Regions from separate parts of the Homo sapiens genome. Here region 1 is linked to region 2. Evidence: promoter capture Hi-C in 16 types of primary human blood cells and fetal thymus (Javierre and others, 2016). All regions are on one chromosome and are shown on one strand. The core of a region is centred on a gene start or on the middle of the fragment in contact, and the rest is flanking DNA. Distances in the headings are between cores, read along the strand shown. Region 1 overlaps PITPNA (phosphatidylinositol transfer protein alpha). Region 2 holds the start of YWHAE (tyrosine 3-monooxygenase/tryptophan 5-monooxygenase activation protein epsilon).

What was found. The method cuts DNA at HindIII sites, captures the fragments that hold promoters and counts their contacts. A CHiCAGO score of 5 or more calls a contact.
Region 1: a contact is called between a fragment that was not itself captured here and the fragment with the promoter of YWHAE in region 2, in 4 of 17 cell types (naive B cells, naive CD4 T cells, neutrophils and 1 more). The highest score is 7.1, in naive B cells.

Annotation. Positions count from the first base shown.
Region 1 is chr17:1,559,155-1,562,015 of GRCh38, forward strand. The region is part of intron 1 of PITPNA (phosphatidylinositol transfer protein alpha); the gene reads right to left. Among named protein-coding and RNA genes, the nearest start is that of PITPNA, 2.2 kb to the right of the region's middle. RefSeq lists enhancers at 710-1,676, 2,591-2,690 and a silencer at 2,801-2,861. The HindIII fragment of the contact is 2,121 bases long and covers 378-2,498 here.
Region 2 is chr17:1,398,674-1,401,497 of GRCh38, forward strand. It overlaps YWHAE (tyrosine 3-monooxygenase/tryptophan 5-monooxygenase activation protein epsilon), which reads right to left and starts at 1,549. Exons shown (of 6, transcript NM_006761.5): 1 at 1,374-1,549. The coding sequence starts at 1,437. RefSeq lists enhancers at 134-771, 772-1,409, 1,410-2,047. The HindIII fragment of the contact is 7,246 bases long and covers 1-2,824 here.

The DNA of each region.
Region 1 (2,861 bases), core at 188-2,687, 160 kb after region 2:
CACACCGGGCATCTCTGCTCGGGGCTGGATATTACAATCCAAGCTGCTACCACAAAGCCACCAAGAGGGCATTCAACTTATGTCCTGACCTCCAGGAGCTGTCCAAAGGAATCCCAATTTATCATTTTCTTTTCTTCTTCTCCAACTCAATGACCACCAATTGCTGGAGATGCCACCAGCAACCTATTGGAGAAGCCGTGGCCGGCAAAGTCTCCGCCAGGGCCAGAACCCCACAGAGGTGCCAGGGCTAGCAGCACTTCTCCAGGTGCCGTGCATGTGAAATGCAGACCAAGAGCCACCCCCAGTTCAAAGCTGTGAGGCGGGAGAGCTAAGACAAAAACTCTTGGTTTTACCCATACAAGTCCAGCCAGTTTCCAAGCTTAGACGTTCGGTCCCCAGACCCTTGCTGGAGCCCTCTGGGTCCTTTTGTGTCTTGCATGTTTAGTGAAGCATTAGGGAAGCATGAGCTGCTGTGCCTTCCTTATGCAGCCGGCTCACCACTCAGGCTCCTTGCTCCAGGCTAGTAAACAGCTATTTTCTAGTTCCACAAAGGTCCCCCAGGAAGCAAGAAGGACACAGAGGGGTCTGAGGAAAACATCACCTCAAAGGCAAGACACCAAGCAGGAAAGTAGCAGGAAAAACAAAATGGGCTCCAAGTCTTTACTGCCTGCTAACAACTCCCTTCCTCCAGAGCAACTCAAACAACATAAATCCTCCAGTTTACTGAATGCTGCCAGTGAGCCTCCCCTCCCATTACAGAAAGCCAGTGGTGCAGAAAAATACTCCCAACTTGGAGGCCAGAATTTCTGCACCCTCAGAAGAAACTTCCTAGAAAACAATAAGCCTTTTATCTTCAAGAACAGCAGTCAAAATCACATCCAAGATTTTGCAGAAATCAAATTAAACAGAATCCTGTTAGAGGAAGTGTTGGAAAAATCAACAGGGGCAACCTGCAGACGCTGGGTGGGAACCAAGTCTCACCCCAAAAGAGAATGCCATGGGCCAATTCCTGACGGGATGCGCTGAGGCTGCTGACGTGACGGCTGCACACTCTGACACTGCCCCCTTGCTCCTTAGGAACAAAACCACTTCGGCAGCAATAGGGTACAATTCCAAAGGACAGGGCCACAGAGGAACTGCCGGGCTGGGCCTGGAGCGGCACTCACTCTAATGTGACCTTCACTCGCACCCTTTCCAGGGCTGCAACGCTGCGGCCACAGCCAGTGTCTCGGATGCCCTGATGCCCCTGCTCCTCCCCCGTCCCCCGCCCAGGGATGCACACACGGGGCACGAGTCGGGCAGGAAGGAAACGCAGATACCAGGCAGGCCCTGCATCTCCGGCACCTTGGACTTTTCCCTTGCAGGCTTCAAGGGGAGGAGAACAAAGACAGGGAAGGAGTGCCTCTCTTCAAACCTCACTCAGATCTCCTCTGAAGGTCCCTTCCTTTCCCTGCCTGACCTTCATTTCAAAACCACAGATTTCTACAGATTCTAGGGTTCATTTGGGAACAGGAAAAAGAATCAGAAGGATGGGAAAAGCCTGTCAGTCTGGACACTGAAGATTAAAATCTAAAGTGCACCACGTTCTCCTGTTGGCATCGTAAAGTTCTTCCTCCTCACCAGGAAAAGCTCCGAGCCCTGGCTGAATTAACATCAGACTGGATGTCAAGAAACAGAGGGGATGAGGCCTCAAAATAATGCTCTTCAGATGAGGTGTTTAGCTGGGATGACATGTGGGTCTCAGCTCCCTCTGTTACCCAAACTCCACTCTATGTCCTAAATGTCCTAAGCACCTCCAAGGAGCCAGCCTGGTGGGGATGGTCAAAGTGCGATCGCTGACAAAGTGGCAAGAGCTCTCTGCACACCTGCCTGGCTGCCTCACAAGTTGCTCTCTGTTTGACCATCTCCCACTCCTGGGGCTTCTGGCCCTCCCTCCAGGAAAGCAGTTTCACTGTAAATTCTGTGCACACACGCACACGCACACACACACACACACCCATCCTATCTCTCCTCTTTGGGGAGAAAAATGTCCTGTGATGCTTACTTGGAACCCTGAGCTTCAACGATGGCTCATCTTGTACTTGAAAGATTTAGCACACCAAACATCTCCACCTGTCCCCCAGTCCCCTGGATTTCAGGAGCAAACCCGTCATCCTGCAACTCCTTCCAGAAGTCACCAGTTTCCCACGCACCCCTCTTCACTACTCAAGAGCTCCCCACCCCTTCCACCATCTCTCCTCAGTTCACGGCTCCATGGACCCCTCAATTCCTCAAAGAATTTCCCCATCTCTTTGCACCAAGACTGAGAATCCCCTAGAAACAAGCTGGCCCTGCCCTGGTCTCCCCCATCTCCAACGGCAGGTATACTCATCCCAACATACTCTCTTTCCGGACCAGCCTCGACCCCGGTAACTTCCCGGCCTTCTCCACTTCGGACCCTACCCAACATTTTCTGGCCTCCTCGCCCAAGTCTCCCCACGTCCCAAGCAGTCATCCCAAGCTTGTTCCAAAAGCCTCCTCTTCCGCACCAGCTGCTTGGGCACCACGGTTACTCCGGCCCGCATCTCAGCCCCCTCTGCATGTCCTCAGACCCTTCACCTGTCTCCCCAGCCAGGCCCTGACTTCCTAGTCCTCCTCCTGTGTCCACTTACCACCACCCCTCACCCGATGCCTAAGGCGGCCACTCCTCCCCATCCCCATCCCAACTCCATCGCGGAGCCTCTGACCCATCCACCCGGCTCTCCGTGTGAACTGTTCGGCCCTCCACCTTTCCCCACCGCCGGGAGGCCCTGCCTGCCCCGGTGCGCCTCTTCCTCGGCCGCCGCGGGGCCTCTCAGCGCCGCCTGCAGTCCCGGCTGAGC
Region 2 (2,824 bases), core at 299-2,798:
GTTTAATACTACAGTATCGCACAATTATAAATGTGTGGGTATTTCAAAAGGTGGTCCAAAAGGTGGACTGGGAGAGAGGATTAAGAATAAACTTCCTGACAATGACTGGACAGACACAATGGACATTCGATGAAGTTCTGAAAAAGGACTGGAGAACCCATTAGGGGCAAAAGAACAACGAACAAAGAGGACCTACTAATATTTCTACATAAACCCATTTATTTAAAACGGAAAAAAAGAAAGCAACAGGATCTTCAACCTTCATAACTCAAAAAACCCAGCCTCAGCCGAGCGCCTGGAATAGGTTAAGATCCCCCACGAAGTACAGACCAGCATTCCGAGCCTGCAGAGTCAACCAAAATACAGTTACTGAACACTATTGGAAATAACTTTATTTCAACAGGTCTTCCCATTTGTCATCACGGTGCGCACAAACTGTAAAGTCATCGTTTTTACAAACGGGGGGACGGAGGCTCGGGCTCTACAAAGGCTCGAACTCTCAGAGTCGTGGCCTCCTGGTTCTATCCATCAGAACCCACGGGTGATGGAGCCAGAGAAAGGTTACAGGAACTTCGAGATCTCCTGTTTTAAGTCTGAGGAAAGGGAGGGAGTGAGGATTTTCTGGGCCTCCCCAGAAGACGACGAGGAGGAAAAGCCCCGAAACCCCTCACTACGAGGTGCCGGCCTACGGGAAAGAAACCCGATCGCAGCATGGGAGCCTGCCACCGCCCGAAGACGAACTGCAGTGATTCCCACTCACCCCTCTCCCCCCACCATCATCCACGACTGTCCCCCACCTCAGGCCTGAGGAAGCCCATCGCTCTCAAAGGTCCTCCTTTGTGAGACTCCACGGCCGCCGCCCCACACGGGGCCTCCGGGGAAAAGCCACCGCCCCCACCCGCCATATTTCCCTGAAAGGCGCCCGCGCTACAGCTCCCGGTCTTCGCTCTCTCCCATGTGGCGGGTGCTGCTTCCCCCGTCACCCCACCCAATTGTTCTCCACATCCCAAGGCCGTCCCAGAAGCTCCCATGAGGGTGGCTCGTTCGGAGACAGCACCCGCCATCTCCTCCCCCTCCCCCGCCCCGGGACTCGCCCTCCCCCCAGCCGCCATTTTACAACCAACTCCTCCACCCCGTCGCCCCGGCCTCCCGGCCCGCGAGTTGTTTGCAGTTAAGGACGGCGAAGGGGTCACATTCCAGGGCATAGAGCCTCCCATCGCCCCGGGAGCTCCCAGGCCATTTCCTGCTTCCCGAACCCAAGCCCCCGGGCCAGGCTCGCAGACGATGCCGCCATTTTGTCTCCTGTTCCCGGCCTCTGTGGGCGGCGGCAGAGGGTCCGAGAATTCCAGCCCCCCGTTGCCCCCCCAACTCACCGTCGTATCGCTCAGCCTGCTCGGCCAGCTTCGCCTGGTACACCAGATCCTCTCGATCATCCATAGCGGCAGCGGCTCCGGCAGGGTCTGCGCGACGGATGGAAGCGGATAGTGTCTCCGACTCTCTCAGCCTCTCGCTCCGCGTCCGGGCAGCAAAAATGGCGGCGCCTCAATCCGGGACTTCCGCCTGCGCACGCGGACAACTGCTCAGCTCTATGGCAACCGCTCCCTGGCAACTGGCGCGGGGGGCGGGTCCTGGAACTCGGCGCCCGAAGCGGCTGGAACGAGCGCACGAGACGCCTCTCCTCTGTCGGCTCAGCGGGCGCCGGAGCCCAGAGGCGGGAACTGCGACTGCCGAAAGGGAGCGGCCCCCGGGGAACGAGAAGGGCTGAGGCGGGGCCGGCCGGGACTGCTCCTGAAAAAAGCCAGCGAGAGACCTGGGTCAGACCGGGGCCCGAGGCCCGACCTGCGGAAAAGAACGACGGAGGCTGTAACGGTTTCTGTCATGGCAGGTCTTCTTTCCCGAAATCTGAGGCTGTCACTACCGCGCCCTGGTTTTCTTTTCTTTTTTCTTTTTTCTTTTTTCTTTTTGAGACGGAGTTTCCCTCTTGTTCCCCAGGCTGGAGTGCAGTGGTGCGATCTCGGGTTACCACAACGTCCGCCTTCCCGGGTTCAAGTGATTCTGCTGCCTCAGCCTCTCGAGTAGCTGGGATTTCAGGCCCCCGCCACCACCCCCAGCTTTTGTATTTTTAATAGAGATGGGGTTTCACCATGTTGGCCAGGCTGGTCTCGAACTCCCGACCTCAGATGATCCGCCCCCCCTCGGCCTCCCAAAGCGCTGGGATTCCAGGGGTGAGCCACCGCGCCCAGCCCACGTCCTAGTTTTCTCGGCCAAGCCTGGTCATGGGCCTTTTTCAGACACTTTTAGACTCAGGGTAACGAACCGGGCCCTGGCCGGGCGCGGCGGCTCATGCCTGTCATCCCAGCACTTTGGGAGGCCAAGGCGGGAGGATCACAAGGTCAGGAGTTCGAGACCAGCCTGGCCAATATAGTGAAACCCCGTCTCTACTAAAAATACAAAAAATTAGCTTGGCATGGTGGTGCATGCCTGTCATCCCAGCTACTCAGGAGGCTGAGGCAGGAGAATCTCTTGAACCCGGGAGGCGGAGGTTACAGTGAGCCGAGATCCTCCCATTGCACTCCAGCCCAGGCGACAGTGTGAGACTGTGTTTCAAAAGAAAAATTATATATATATACAAAAATTAGCTGGGCGTGGTGGTGCATGCCTGTAATCCCAGCTACTCCAGAGGCTGAGGCAGGAGAATCGCTTGAACCCGGGAGTGGGAGGGTGCAGTGAACCGAGAGCACACCATTGCACTCCAGCCTGGGCAACAAGAGCACAACTCTGTCTCAAAACAAAGAAAAAGAAAAAAAACGAACTGGGCCCTGTT